4 separate regions of the Homo sapiens genome follow, and regions 1, 2 and 3 are each linked to region 4. Evidence: promoter capture Hi-C in 16 types of primary human blood cells and fetal thymus (Javierre and others, 2016). All regions are on one chromosome and are shown on one strand. Each heading gives the region's core, a stretch centred on a gene start or on the middle of the fragment in contact. The rest is flanking DNA. Distances are from core to core; before and after follow the strand shown. Region 1 has its middle 22 kb from the start of SAR1A. Region 2 overlaps PPA1 (inorganic pyrophosphatase 1). Region 3 overlaps SAR1A (secretion associated Ras related GTPase 1A). Region 4 holds the start of EIF4EBP2 (eukaryotic translation initiation factor 4E binding protein 2).

Region 1 (3,028 bases), core at 64-2,563, 210 kb before region 4:
CATTCATCAGTGTTCTCCTCCTACTTCATTGATTTTTTTTTTTAATAAAATAAGGCATACTGCATATGCTTTTAGAAAAATAATTCCAAGAGTACAGAAGCTTTTAAAGAAGAAGGAAACTCTCTGACCTTATCTATTCCTTGCTTACTCCACAGTTCCACTCCCCAGAGGTAATCATTGTTACTGTGGTTTTAGATTTCTTAACTGTGGTTTGGATTTGGATTTTCATTGTCTATGCTTATAGAAGCATATCTATTGATATACGTCTTTCCTCCAAATGCTCCCTTTGTAAAAAACACAAATAGGATCATATGATAGAGCAGGGATTGGAAAATGTTTTCTGTAAACAGACAAACAGTAAATACTTTTGGCTTTTGGGGCCATATGGTCACTGTCCTAACTACTGAACACTCCACTGTAGACGGAAGGCAGCCACAGACAATTTGCAAATGAAAAGATGTTGGCTATGTTCCAATAAAATTTTATTTACAAAACAGGCAGCAGGCTGGATTTGGCCCACAAGTCATAGTTTACCACTATAGAGTACTACAATTTTCTCTCCTCACTTATATATTTTGAACATCTTTTCCATATCAGTCCATGCAGTGATTTCACTCTTTAAGTGCTGTGGGTATGAGTAACAGATTCAGCCATTCCTCTGTGGGGCAGTTAAGTACTTTTCCAGATTTTGCTATTGCAAACAAAGCTGCTGTATACTATGTGTTTGGTTGACTGTTCTGCAGAATGAATTCCTAGAATTGCTGAGTCAAAGATTAAGTATGAATTTAAATTTTTGATAGATATTGCCAAATTGCTCTCAGACTTCAAGTTCAGATTGCCACATAACCTTGTGATTCTCATTGCTTAACCTTATTCCTGGCAAGTATTTCCTTAATTTAAAGGTTTTGTAATAATCAGGGAAAGATCTCAAAGATCGACAGAGGTAGCAATGAACTATATAGCAATTGATTCAAATTTATAACTCATAAAAACTTTTCCACCATGGCAATTTGCACAACATTCTTATTAATGCAAAAGTAAATTCCTTTCTGCCTTGAGACTCCCAGGAAGCAGTAGGAGCAGCTTTTTCTAAATGTAAAGAACGTCATGTGCAAAAGCACAAGTTAGGCCCTTGTAGAGCAAATATGCTTATCAGATTGAAAATAATTGCCATCAGAGCAGTAGCACGTGTAGGCCTGGGCTCAGTGGTGAGTGATTTGGGTTCTCATTCAGACCCTTTAAATAACCAGGCCAAGGCATCAAGTTTCCTTACCTGGGAAAAAAAAATGCATTGATCACACTAAGAGTTGCTGAGATCACAACTATAAACAACCAGGCTTCACCGAACGCCCACTATGACATGGACAGTGGGCAAGCTCCTTCACATATGTTCCTGCCAATCCTGTGACGCAGATGGGAAAACTAAAGCCCAGACATGTTAAGTACCCACTAATAATGATTGTGAAAGCAGACAAATAACATAAAGCTAGTAGGAAAATCCCTGGTCTCAAGGTCAGATGACCTGGGTCTAAGTCCTGCTTCAGCCACTTACTGACTTTGGATAAATTTAAGTGACTTTGGCTAAATTACTTAGGTTCTCTGCATCTTTTTCTTATAAAAAAAAAAAAAAAGAGGCTGGGTGTGGTAGCTCACATCTGTAAACCCTGTAAACCCAGCACTTCGAGAGGCTGAGCTGGGAAGATCACTTGAGTCCAGGAGTCTGAGGTTTGAGACCAGCCTGGGCAATATAGTAAGACCCCATCTCTACAAAACAATTTAAAATTTAGCCAGGCATGGTGGCACATGCCTGTAGTCCTAGCTATTCAGGAGGCTGAGGTGGGAGGATCGCTTGAGCCCAGGAGTTCAAGGCTGCAATGAGCTATGATTATACCACTGCACTCCAGCCTGGGCAACAGAGCAAAACCCTAACTAATAAATAAATAAGAAGAGCTTATTTCTCTCTGTGTTAAATGAGGTGTGTCAAAATACCTGGCACTCTCACAGTTATTTCCTTTACTCCATGGTAAGACTGGACTTCCTTACCACCTTGAGGTCAGGCATGGTCATTCGGCTTGCTCTAGCCAGTGAAATGTCTGTGATGTGCGTCACTTCTGGGCAGAAGCACCTAATCACCAGTGCAAGGCTCCACCACTTTCTTCCTCCGAGAGGCTGATCGACATGAGAAAGCACGTGTTAACACGGAGGCGTGATGCTAAGCTATCATAGGGGAACAGCTGCCCACAAGCAGAGCCTACTTTATGTGAGTGAGGAATCAACTTTTGTTTCCTTAAGCCATTGAGATTTGGGGGGATTGCTGTGCATAACCAAGCCCATCCTACTGTCAGGGTGACCTCATCTGTCTTGCTCAACACTATATCCCCAGTGTCTAAAACAGTGCCTGGCAAACTCAAATCTCAAGAAGTGTTCCTAAGAGGGCTGTTCCAGGAATTAAGATTTCTTTTGGCTTTAGTACCCAGATGACTTTTATCTAGCATGGATGATGAAAAAGAGAACTTTCCAAACACCCAAAGCTTCTCTTTGAGAGTTACGTGTTGTGTCCCACAAAAATTCATATTGAAGTCCTAATCCCCAGCACCTCAGAATGTGAGGTGTTTGTGACCCTCTTTTTTTTTTTTTTGAAACGGAGTCTCGCTGTTGTCACCCAGGCTGGAGTGCAATGGCGATATCTCAGCTCACTGCAAACTCCACCTCCCAGGTGCAAGCGATTCTCTTGCCTCAGTCTCCCGAGTAGCTGGGATTACGGGCGCCAGCCACATGCCCGGCTAATCTTTTTGTATTTTTAGTAGAAACAGGGTTTCACCATGTTGGTCAGGGTGGTCTCGAACTCCTGACCTCAGGTGATCTGCCCGTCTCAGCCTCCCAAAGTGCTGGGATGACAGGCATGAACCACCGCACCCAGCCTATGACCCTCTTTTGGAAAACGAATTTCTTGTCTTTAAGGATGCTGAATATAGGTCCCCAATCTCTTCTGCCTTGTAGGGTTTCTGCTGAAAAGTTCAGTTAGCCT
Region 2 (3,241 bases), core at 1-2,500, 180 kb before region 4:
GGTAGAATTCTCGCCTGCTAAATCAGGTACTTCCAGTTTGTAGGCCTCAGGCTACAGCTTGGGGTGAGTGACTCATCTGTAAAATCAATGTTTAGCACACTTTTTTTTTATTATTATACTTTAAGTTTTAGGGTATATGTGCACAAAGTGCAGGTTTGTTACATATGTATACATGTGCCATGTTGCATGTTGGTGTGCTGCACCCATTAACTCATCATTTAGCATTAGGTATATCTCCTAATACTATCCTTTCCCCCTCCCCCCACCCCACAACAGGCCCCGGTGTGTGATGTTCCCCTTCCTGTGTCCACGTGTTCTCATTGTTCAATTCCCACCTATGAGTGAGAAATGCGGTGTTTGGTTTTTTGTCCTTGCAACAGTTTGCTGAGAATGATGGTTTCCAGCTTCATCCATGTCCCTACAAAGGACATGAACTCATCATTTTTTATGCATGGAATACTAGCACACTTTCAAATGCATGTAGATGCTGTAGTAATACTTGTCTCAGCCAGGCGTGGCGACTAACGTCTATAATCCTAGCACTTTGGGAGGCAGAGGCAGGAGGACCGCTTGAGGCCAAGAGTTCAAGACCAACCTGACCAACATAGCAAGACCCTGTCTCTTAAAAAACATTTTTTTAAAGAGAGAGAGAGAGAGAGACGGGGTCTCACTCTGTCATCCAGACTGGAGTACAGTGACGCAATCATAGCTCACTGCAGCCTCCAACTCCTGGTCTCAAGCAATCCTCCTGCCTCAGCCTCCTAAGTAGCTGGGCCTACAGGTGTGCACCACCACACCTGGCTAATTGTTTTTTAATTATGTTTTTGGAGATGAAGTCACACTATGTTGAGCAGGCTGGTCTCTAATTCCTAGCCTCAAGTGATCCTCCTGCCTATGCATCCCTAGTAGCTGGGACTACAGGTGCAAGCCATCCTGCCCAGCTCTGTACTTGTAAGGAGGGGGTGTTCCACATACTTTAGCAGGAATTACTACTAAAGAACAACCTTCTTCTAGACATCTGGCTACAATTCAAAGAGTTGCTACTAGGTGAACAACAGTGATATTTAGGATTTTTCAGGGCAACTGATATGAGAAATTCAATGAATTTTATAGCAACAGAGTTGCTATAAAAACTATTACTGTTTTTATGCATTCTAATGATTCCAATATTCACGCACTTAAAAAATACTGATTTTAAGAAATTTCGTACTACCCAGTTACAAATTCATTCCTTCTTCTTTAATCCCAACTGGTTTCAGCTTTTACTTAGCTGGATCTTGGATTTACTATCTTGTTACTCCCACTGTTAGGACTTCCCAGAACTCCATCCTCCAATCCTACCATGCTTTGGAGTCTCAGTCATTGCTCTGGCATCAGAGCTCTCAGCTCTCTGTTAACAGTTTCAGAAAAGAAGGAAGTTAAGTCTCCCTAGAGGGATGATTTTGATAAACTCAATAATTACCTTGCTGATAAACCAGTGGGGGATAAGGGAAAAGGCAAACTATAACTTTAGCTCTTGTTCCCAAAGTCAGAAATATAACTGTCTATTTCAGGCCAGGTATGGTGGCTCGTGCCTGTAAACCTAGCACTTTGGGAGGCTGAGGCAAGAGGATTGCTTAGACTAGGAGTTCAAGACCAGCCTGAGCAACATAGACAGACCCTGTCTCTACAAAAAAAAAAAAAAAAAAAAGTCTATTTCCCTTCCCAGATTTACAATCATTTTATCAAGTAGTCAAGATGTTACAACAAAACATTAAAGATGTCCAGATTCTAAGGAAACTGGAAACTCAACAACTCTACATTATGTCACTCCATTAATCAAAAATATTTAAAATAAAAATGTTTCAGGAATAGAAGAAATATCTCCTATATCTTGGTTAGGTGTGTAACTTCACTAATTAAACAGGAATATTAATCACAGTAGTATGGTGAGGCCCCGTCTCATCTCCAAACTGGTTAGGGTCTTATGGACCAAGTCAGTAGTCTGACAAGTTGTTTACTAATAAATAGGCTACGGCCATTTGGTAGGCTGTTATTACTAATGCAGTTAAGTACATATATAGGGAACATGCTCTTAATTTAATTACAGCACGTCTTTAAATCCTAGCAGTTAAGTTCAATGTGTCTTTATTGAGACTTATTTCTTATTTATTTATTTTATTTTATTTTTTGAGACAGAGTTTCGCTCTTGTTACCCAGGCTGGAGCACAATGGTGCAATCTCGGCTCACTGCAACCTCCGTCTCCCGGGTTCAAGCAATTCTCCTGCCTCAGCCTCCCGAGTAGCTGGGATTACAGGCATGCACCACCATGCCCAGCTAATTTTTGTATTTTTAGTAGAGACAGGGTTTCTCCATGTTGGTCAGGCTGGTCTCGAGCTCCCGACCTCAGGTGATCCGCCCACCTTGGCCCCCCAAAGTGTTGGGATTACAGGCATGAGCCACCGCGCCCAGCATTGAGATTTATTTCTAACCCTGGATTTGGTAAATTCGATGAACTATACTACAGAATTATACCAAGTGGCTGACATTAGCATTTTCAAGTTGACTCATTGTGTGTTTCTCTAGATAACTTCAGAAATCTAGTAAATACCAGGCTTAGAAAGAAACACAAAAATCACCCTGTGGTCCCACCACTCTTATTTATTTATTTATTTATTTAGAGACAGAGTCTCACCTGTCACCCAGGCTGAAGTGCAGTGGCATGATCTCAGCTCACTGCAACCTCCGTCTCCGGGGCTCAAGTGATCCTCCTACCTCTGCCTCCTGGACCACAGGCACCTGCCACCACACCCAGCTAATTTTTTTTTTTCTATTTTTGGTAAAGACCGGGTTTCACCATGTTGCTGAGGCTGGTCATGAACTCCTGAGCTCAAGCAATTCGTCCACCTAGGCTGCCCAGAGTGCTAGAATTACGGGCATAAGCCACGGCACCCAGCCCACCCCCCATTTTTTAATCTTTATTGTTTTGCAATAAAATTTGGAGAAAAAACAGTAGAGGTAGAGAGAATTTTCTTCTAAATTTATCTAGAGCATAAACATAAAGCAAGAAACTAATCCAAACCAAGCTTTAACTTTTTTTTTTTTTTTGGAACTTATAGACTAGTTTTGGAGTATAAAATCCCTATCAGAAGAGCTCACGTAGTTAAAAGAAAATGTTCCATCCCCATAAAGATGCTTTCGAAAAGGTATACCAGATTTCACCATTTCCAAGAATACTTTATCTTATTCACTGCTCACCAA
Region 3 (3,370 bases), core at 520-3,019, 240 kb before region 4:
TGTGTCTTACAGGGAACTTTCTCGTATGAGTTGGCTTTTGGGACTTCAGTTAATAAAAGAACTCCACCAACTAGGGATTCATCCTCCACGCCTAACACTGACCTTTAAAGATCAAAAGGTCACCTGATATTTTCAAACCTACTCGGATGTAGTGTTGGAACATGTTGGCCCAATCTGTCATCTTTGAGCATGTGAAGAAGAGTGGTTTTGCCTGCATTATCCAAACCTAAGAATACAAGTTTTCCAGATTTCTTGTACAGTCCTAAAAGAGAAAAAAATTGTTAACACATTTGCTCTCTACAGACCAAAGCCTATTTGTAGTTAAATTACTGAGGGAAAGGCACAAACTTTGAAACCTGTATTTCAAGGAAATGGCTTTACCTAGGAACTGGAGCACACTGCTGAAGCCATTGTAGATCCACTCAAAGATGAAAGACATTATTAATGCTTACTACCTGTATAAAATATGAAAGTAGCAAACATTAGCTTTCTGAATGACAGTACAATTGTGGAGAGGTTAACTCTTGTTCCCTAGCCATGATGCACATTTATAGTCTCTTGTTTTCGGGAATAAGAAAGCAGGCCAGGCATGGTGGCTCACACCTGGAATCCCAGCATTTGGGAAAGCCAAGGCAGGCGGATCACTTGAGCCCAGGAGTTCACAACTGGCCTGGGCAAGAAAGCTGGACTCAATCTCTACAAATAACTAAAAAAATAGCTGGACATAATGACACACACCAAGAGTCCCAGCTACTCAGGAGGGTGAGACAGAAGAATTACTTGAACCCAGGGGTTTGAGGCTGCAGTGAGGCATGACGGTGCCACTGCACTCACTTGGGCAACAGAGGGAGACTCTGATAAAAAAGACAGGACAGGACAGGAGAAAGGAAAGGGAAGGGAAAGGGAAAGGGAAAGGGAAAAGGAAAGGGAAAGGGAAAGGGAAAGGGAAAGGAAAGGAAAGGAAAAGAAAAGAAAAGAGAGGGGAGGGGAGGCGGGGCAGGGGAGGAGGGGGAGGGGAGGAGGGGAAGGGGAGGAGGGGATGGAAGGGGAGGGGAGGAAGCAAAGTAAAGAGAAACTAATATTCTTTCTTGACACAGATTTTGCAATCTGGAGGAGAGTCTAGAATCCTTATATGTGCAAAAATAACTTGTTTCCTAATAGTTTTTGATCTATGATACTCAGAGAACTAGGAGTTAAAAATATAAAGGCATACCTCATTTGATGATACTTTGTGGATCCTGAGGTTTTCTGGTTTTTTTACAAATTGAAGGTTGGAAGCAGCCCTGAGTTGAGTAAGTGTATCAGTACCATCTTCTAACAGCATGTGCTCCCTTCATGTCTCTATGTTACATTTTGGTAATTCTCACACAATATTTCAAACTTTTTCATTATTCTTATATCTGTCATCATGATCTATGATCAGTGATCTTTGGTATTACTAGTATAATTGTTTTGTTGTGCCACAAACCACAACCATAGAAGACAGCAAACTTGACTTCCTCCACAGTCCTGCCCCCACCCCAAGCCTCCCTATTCTCCAAGTGAAAGTAACAGGTCTCTCCCTTGAAAGCAAAAGTTAGAAATGATTAAGCTTAGTGACGAAGACACATCAAAACCTGAGATAAGCCAGAAGCTAGGCCTCTTGCACTCAACAGTTACCCAAATTGCAAATGCAAAGGAAAAGTTCTTGAAGAAAATTAAAAGTGCTACTCCAGCAAACCCATGAACGTCAAGAAAATGAAACAGCCTTATTGCTGATAAAAAATAATAATAAAATAAAAACACGAGGTAAAAAAGCAAGTGCTGATGTAGAAGCTGCAGCAAGATAACTGATGAAGGTGGGTGGCTACACTAAACAACACATTTTCAATGTAGGCAAAACAGCCTTCTATTTGAAAAGCCATCTAGGACTTTCATAGCTAGAGGGGAGATGTCATTGCTTGGCTTCAAAGCTTCAAGGGGCAAGCTGACTCTCTTGTTATGGGCTAATGCAAGGTGACTTTACGTTGAGGCCAATATTCATTTACCATTCTGAAAATCCTAGGACCCATACTCATTTACCATTCTGAAAATCCTAGGACCCATACTCATTTACCATTTTGAAAATCCTAGGGCCCTGAAGAATGACACTAAATCAGTCCAAGTGGAGCAAGTGAGCGAGCAGAGTGGTTGTGTGGTTGCGTCTCGGAAACCAGTAGCACTTGCAGCATGGCTGACCAACTGACTGAGGAGCAGATTGTAGAATTCAAAGAAGTTTTTTCACTATTTGACAAAGATGGTGATGGAACTATAACAACAAAGAAACTAGGAACTGTAATGAGGTCTCAGGCAGAATCCCACAGAAGCAGAGTTACAGGACATGATTAATGAAGTAGATGCTGATGGTAATGGCACAATTGACTTCCCTGAATTTCTGACAATGATGGCAAGAAAAATGAAAGACACAGACAGTGAAGAAGAAATTAGAGAAACATTCTGTGTGTTTGATAAGGATGGCAATGGCTATATTAGTGGTGTAGAACTTCACCATGTGATGACAAACCTTGGAGTGAAGTTAACAGATGAAGAAGTTGATTAAATGATCAGGGAAGCAGATCCTGATGGTGATGGTCAAGTAAACTATGAGTTTGTACAAATGATGACAGCATAATGAAGACCTTGTACAGAATGTGTTAAATTTCTTGCACAAAACTGTTTATTTGCCTTTTGTTTGTAACTTATCTGTAAAAGGCTTCTCCCTACTGTCAAAAAAAAATATGCATGTATGGTAATCAGGACTTCATTCCTCCATGTGTTCTTCCCTTACTGTCATTGCCCTGAAACCTTATTTTAGAAAACTGATGAAGTAACATGTTGCCTGTGGCTTACTCCGGATATATCTAAGCCCTTCTGCACATCTAAACTTAGGTGGAGTTGGTCAAATAAGGGAACATCCGGGTTATGCCTTTTTTTAAAGTAGTTTTCTTTAGGAACTGTCAGCATGGTGTTGAAGTATGGAGTTGTAACTCTGTGTGGACTACGGACAGCCAACAATATGTACTTAAAAGTTGCACTACTGCAGAATGGGTGTATTATCCAGGTACTCCCAGGTACCTCACACACTGTTTTTTCTGTACTGCTGGTCCTGTACCAGAAACATTTTCTTTTACTGTTACTTGCTTTTTAAACTTTGTTTAGCCACTTAAAGAAAATGTGCTTATGGCACAATTTGCCTCAAATCCATTCCAAGTTGTGTATTTGTTTTCCAATTAAAAAAATTACAATTAAAAAAAGAATTATACTAAATCTACTCTGCCTACCACACATCTGTTTACAGCATGGTTTACTAAGTATTTTAAGCCCACTGTGAAGACCTATTGCTCAGAAAAAA
Region 4 (3,282 bases), core at 449-2,948:
TTGCTGAGATTATAGGTGTGAGTTACTGTGCCCCTACTGGACTGATGCACTTTATCAACCACACACTGTAAGCTCTACACAAATGTAAACTAGTATCTTCCCCTTTCCTTCCACTAGAAGTGTCTCTGTTGGCATGTCCAAAGTCTCAGAGTCTTTCAAGGTTAAACTCAGCCCTCTGCAACTCTGGCAGCTTCCAGATGGCAGGACAGGCAGGGGACTTTTTTTTCTGGATTCTTGGGGCACTCACCACAAAATCAGTACCATGTAATGCCCTGGCCTGCCCTGGGCTGTTGTAAGTTCTTTTGTCTATGTTCTTGCCAAGCACCTGTTTGACCCTCTGAGCAGTGAAGCAATAGCTGTTTTCCCCTCAACCTCTCTTACCCTTATTTCTCTCATTTGCAAAATGGGAATGATGGTAGCTATGTTGGCCTTACCCATGAGTGTCTTCCCAGTCCCACCTTGGGCATGTTGTGGGCAGAAGTAGTGCTGCCCTAGTGCAGCGGTTCTCAAAGTGTGATCTGGAGAGCCCCTCGGGGATCTGAGACAACCTTCTTTTCTAACTACATACCTGTGTGAGGCTGGGTTTTCTTCATATAGTTGAATCAACACATTACAACAGCTTGAACACAGAAACAGATATGAGAATACAGCTGTTTTCTATTAAGCCAGATATTAAAGCGTTTGCAAAAATATAAAATAATGCCACTGTTCTCACTATTTGTTTTAGATAATTAAAAAATATAATGTCAACATGTAATAGGTTATTATTTTATGAATTAATAAACATTTAAAACATTCTCAGTTTTAATTTGTTTTTTGTTGTTGTTGTTGTTGTTGTTTTTTAGAGACAGGGCCTCACTCTGTTGCCCAGGCCGGAATGCAGTGGCTATTCACAGGTACAATCCCACTAGTGATCAGCAGCGGCTCAGTTTTAATTTCTAATACAATAATTATCAATACATATAATCCACACAAACAAAAGCTCTTGGAAATCCTCAATAATTTTCAAGAATGTAGAGGTACTGAGACCCAAAGTTTGAGAACCCCTCGAGGAAAGAATAGAGTTCCAGATCTAGATTTTTCAGGTACCTCATGGTCTAAGCCCTCTCCTGTGCCTCATTTTAACTCTAATACAATAATACTCATTCTTGTTGCCATGAGTGGCTCTTGGTTTCTTCCTTTTCCTAATGTTTAGATCTTGCTTTATGTGTGTATATAGTGATGGTCTTTGGAAGGATACACAATTAACTGGTACAGCGGTTGAGGGGAGTTCGGAAACTGGGAGAAAGTGGCACCATAAACCTTTCTGCTCTGTTTGATTTTTAAAATACAGTACATCGTGCATGTAGTGCCTGAATTAATAATGAACAATTAAAAGTAAAATTACATTTTTAATGCATAGGAATGCATGAGAAACTCAAGTCTGCTCAAGTAAAGTGGTGTTAACCGACAATGACAAACAATAAGAAGAAAGTTTTCCTTGTCCGCCTTCACCAGGCTCACAAACACTTAGCTCGCGCTCCCTCTGGCTCTTCTCCCGCTCGCTGGGGTTAAGCCACTCTCTTCCTCAGCCCTGCCCCTCGTCCCCGCCCCCTTCAACAACTTCAGCCACGCCCCTCACTGCCTCGCCCCGCCCCGCGGCGACGTCACCTCCGGCCGACCAGCTTCCCCAACTCCCTCTGGCTCCCGCCTTCGCCCGCTTCCGGTCGTCGTCGTCGCCGCTGCTGCCGCTGCTGTTGCTCCTGAGGCTGCTGGCTGAGGCCGGAGGATCGAGCGGCGGCGGCGGCGGCGGCTGAGAGGGCGGCGGCGGGAGCGGAGCGGGACGAGGGAACGGGAGGAAGCGAGCGAGGAGCGCGCAGAGCGCGCTTTTCCGTCCGCCTGAGGAGCCGAAGCAGCCCCGGCCCCGCCGCCGCCGCCTGCCCGCCGGACAAAGCCGAGAGCCCGCGCCCACAGCCATGTCCTCGTCAGCCGGCAGCGGCCACCAGCCCAGCCAGAGCCGCGCCATCCCCACCCGCACCGTGGCCATCAGCGACGCCGCGCAGCTACCTCATGACTATTGCACCACGCCCGGGGGGACGCTCTTCTCCACCACACCGGGAGGTGAGCGCCGGCCAGCCGTCCGCCGCGCCCGGTGTCCCGCCGCGGTCCTCTAACTCCTCGGCGCCTCGGTGCCCGGCCGCTTCGCCCCCGCCCCCAGCTCCACCGAAGCCCCGGGGACGCTGCCCTTGGGCCCGCCCGAGCGTTCGGGACCCTTTACTTCGTGTTCGCTCTTGCCCGCAGCTCGAGTCGGCGCGCGCCCCACTCGGGAATGTGGCTGTCCTGTCGCGAAAAAGAGCTCTTGTTTCCGCTTCGTGGCAGGCTTACGCATTCGACCCAGTTCTCTCTCTCCTCTCTGCCTCCTTCCCGGGCGGATTTGGCTCCACTTGGCCTTGCATTACAGTCTGCATTGCCTGTCGTAGATTGTGCAAATTAATGCTTGATTTTGGAGCTGGCTCCGGGGCTTTTTAAAAAAGAACTTTGGGAGAGGAATTCGGCCCTGGCATCCTGCGATGGCTTGTTTTTGCTGCTTTTAGAACACCGGGAGGAGGCTGGAATGCGGAGTCTGGAAGCCTCGCCCAGCGTTATCCCGCTTTGACAGCATTGTTTACTTTGCTGGACGAGGCCCCACGGGTGAGGGGAGTCCCCAGGCCGGGAGGAGAGCGTGATAAAATAAAGCTCAAGTAATAGCCAAGGGAAAGTAGGTGGGGGTGGTAGGGTGCTGACAGCCTTAAGGTAGGGTGTCTTTCGGCAGCGACGCCTTTGGAAATGGATTGAAGGACCTTTGTCAAGGACACCCCAGTTGGGTGGGGTGGTTGCTTGATCCTGTGGAAGGGGCTAGAGAGAGGCAATCCAGAGAGAGGGTGGTTCCCTGGCATTGCTTTTCAAAGCATGACCAGGAACTGTTTACAAATAAGTAATACTGGGGTAGAGGTGAAGCTTGGTCACGGGAAGAGAGCTCAAAGGTTGTCTGTGCCCTAACTGGGCTGTCCTCCAGAGGGAGGAGCCTGGAAAGCGATTTTGAGGAGCCTTATTGAAGGGAACGGGGCCTCCTTTTTAACTTCAGAACTTTGTCTTCTTTTGGTGCTGGGGTGGCCTCTTGCTAGAGGGTGGGGACTTCGCAGCTCCTGCGGTCTAGAGGATTGCTAGCCTTGTTCCTGTGGGCAGGGCTCAGGAGCTGTACTACAACCAATCCGATGCAGTTAGGCCTGGACCATCCTTAAATCAGTTGCACAATAGCAAGGC

What was found. Contacts are between HindIII fragments. The CHiCAGO score rates a contact against its expected background, and 5 or more counts as called.
Region 1: a fragment that was not itself captured here is called in contact with the fragment with the promoter of EIF4EBP2 in region 4 in 1 of 17 cell types (monocytes); the score reaches 6.2 in monocytes.
Region 2: a fragment that was not itself captured here is called in contact with the fragment with the promoter of EIF4EBP2 in region 4 in 4 of 17 cell types (fetal thymus, naive CD4 T cells, naive CD8 T cells and 1 more); the score reaches 6.0 in fetal thymus.
Region 3: a contact is called between a fragment that was not itself captured here and the fragment with the promoter of EIF4EBP2 in region 4, in 1 of 17 cell types (neutrophils). The highest score is 5.5, in neutrophils.

The regions. Positions count from the first base shown.
Region 1 is chr10:70,191,381-70,194,408 of GRCh38, forward strand. No RefSeq gene overlaps it. Among named protein-coding and RNA genes, the nearest start is that of SAR1A, 22 kb to the left of the region's middle. The HindIII fragment of the contact is 2,431 bases long and covers 99-2,529 here.
Region 2 is chr10:70,222,577-70,225,817 of GRCh38, forward strand. All of the region lies in intron 2 of PPA1 (inorganic pyrophosphatase 1), which reads right to left. Among named protein-coding and RNA genes, the nearest start is that of PPA1, 9.2 kb to the right of the region's middle. RefSeq lists an enhancer at 1-165. The HindIII fragment of the contact is 3,628 bases long and covers 1-3,064 here.
Region 3 is chr10:70,161,477-70,164,846 of GRCh38, forward strand. SAR1A (secretion associated Ras related GTPase 1A) reads right to left here. Exons shown (of 7, transcript NM_020150.5): 2 at 382-455; 3 at 143-262. The coding sequence starts at 439. It also overlaps the pseudogene CALM2P2. Among named protein-coding and RNA genes, the nearest start is that of SAR1A, 7.4 kb to the right of the region's middle. RefSeq lists an enhancer at 2,915-2,994. The HindIII fragment of the contact is 361 bases long and covers 1,590-1,950 here.
Region 4 is chr10:70,402,447-70,405,728 of GRCh38, forward strand. EIF4EBP2 (eukaryotic translation initiation factor 4E binding protein 2) reads left to right here and starts at 1,699. Exons shown (of 3, transcript NM_004096.5): 1 at 1,699-2,100. The coding sequence starts at 1,956. RefSeq lists silencers at 1,571-1,760, 1,791-2,000. The HindIII fragment of the contact is 15,348 bases long and covers 1-2,974 here.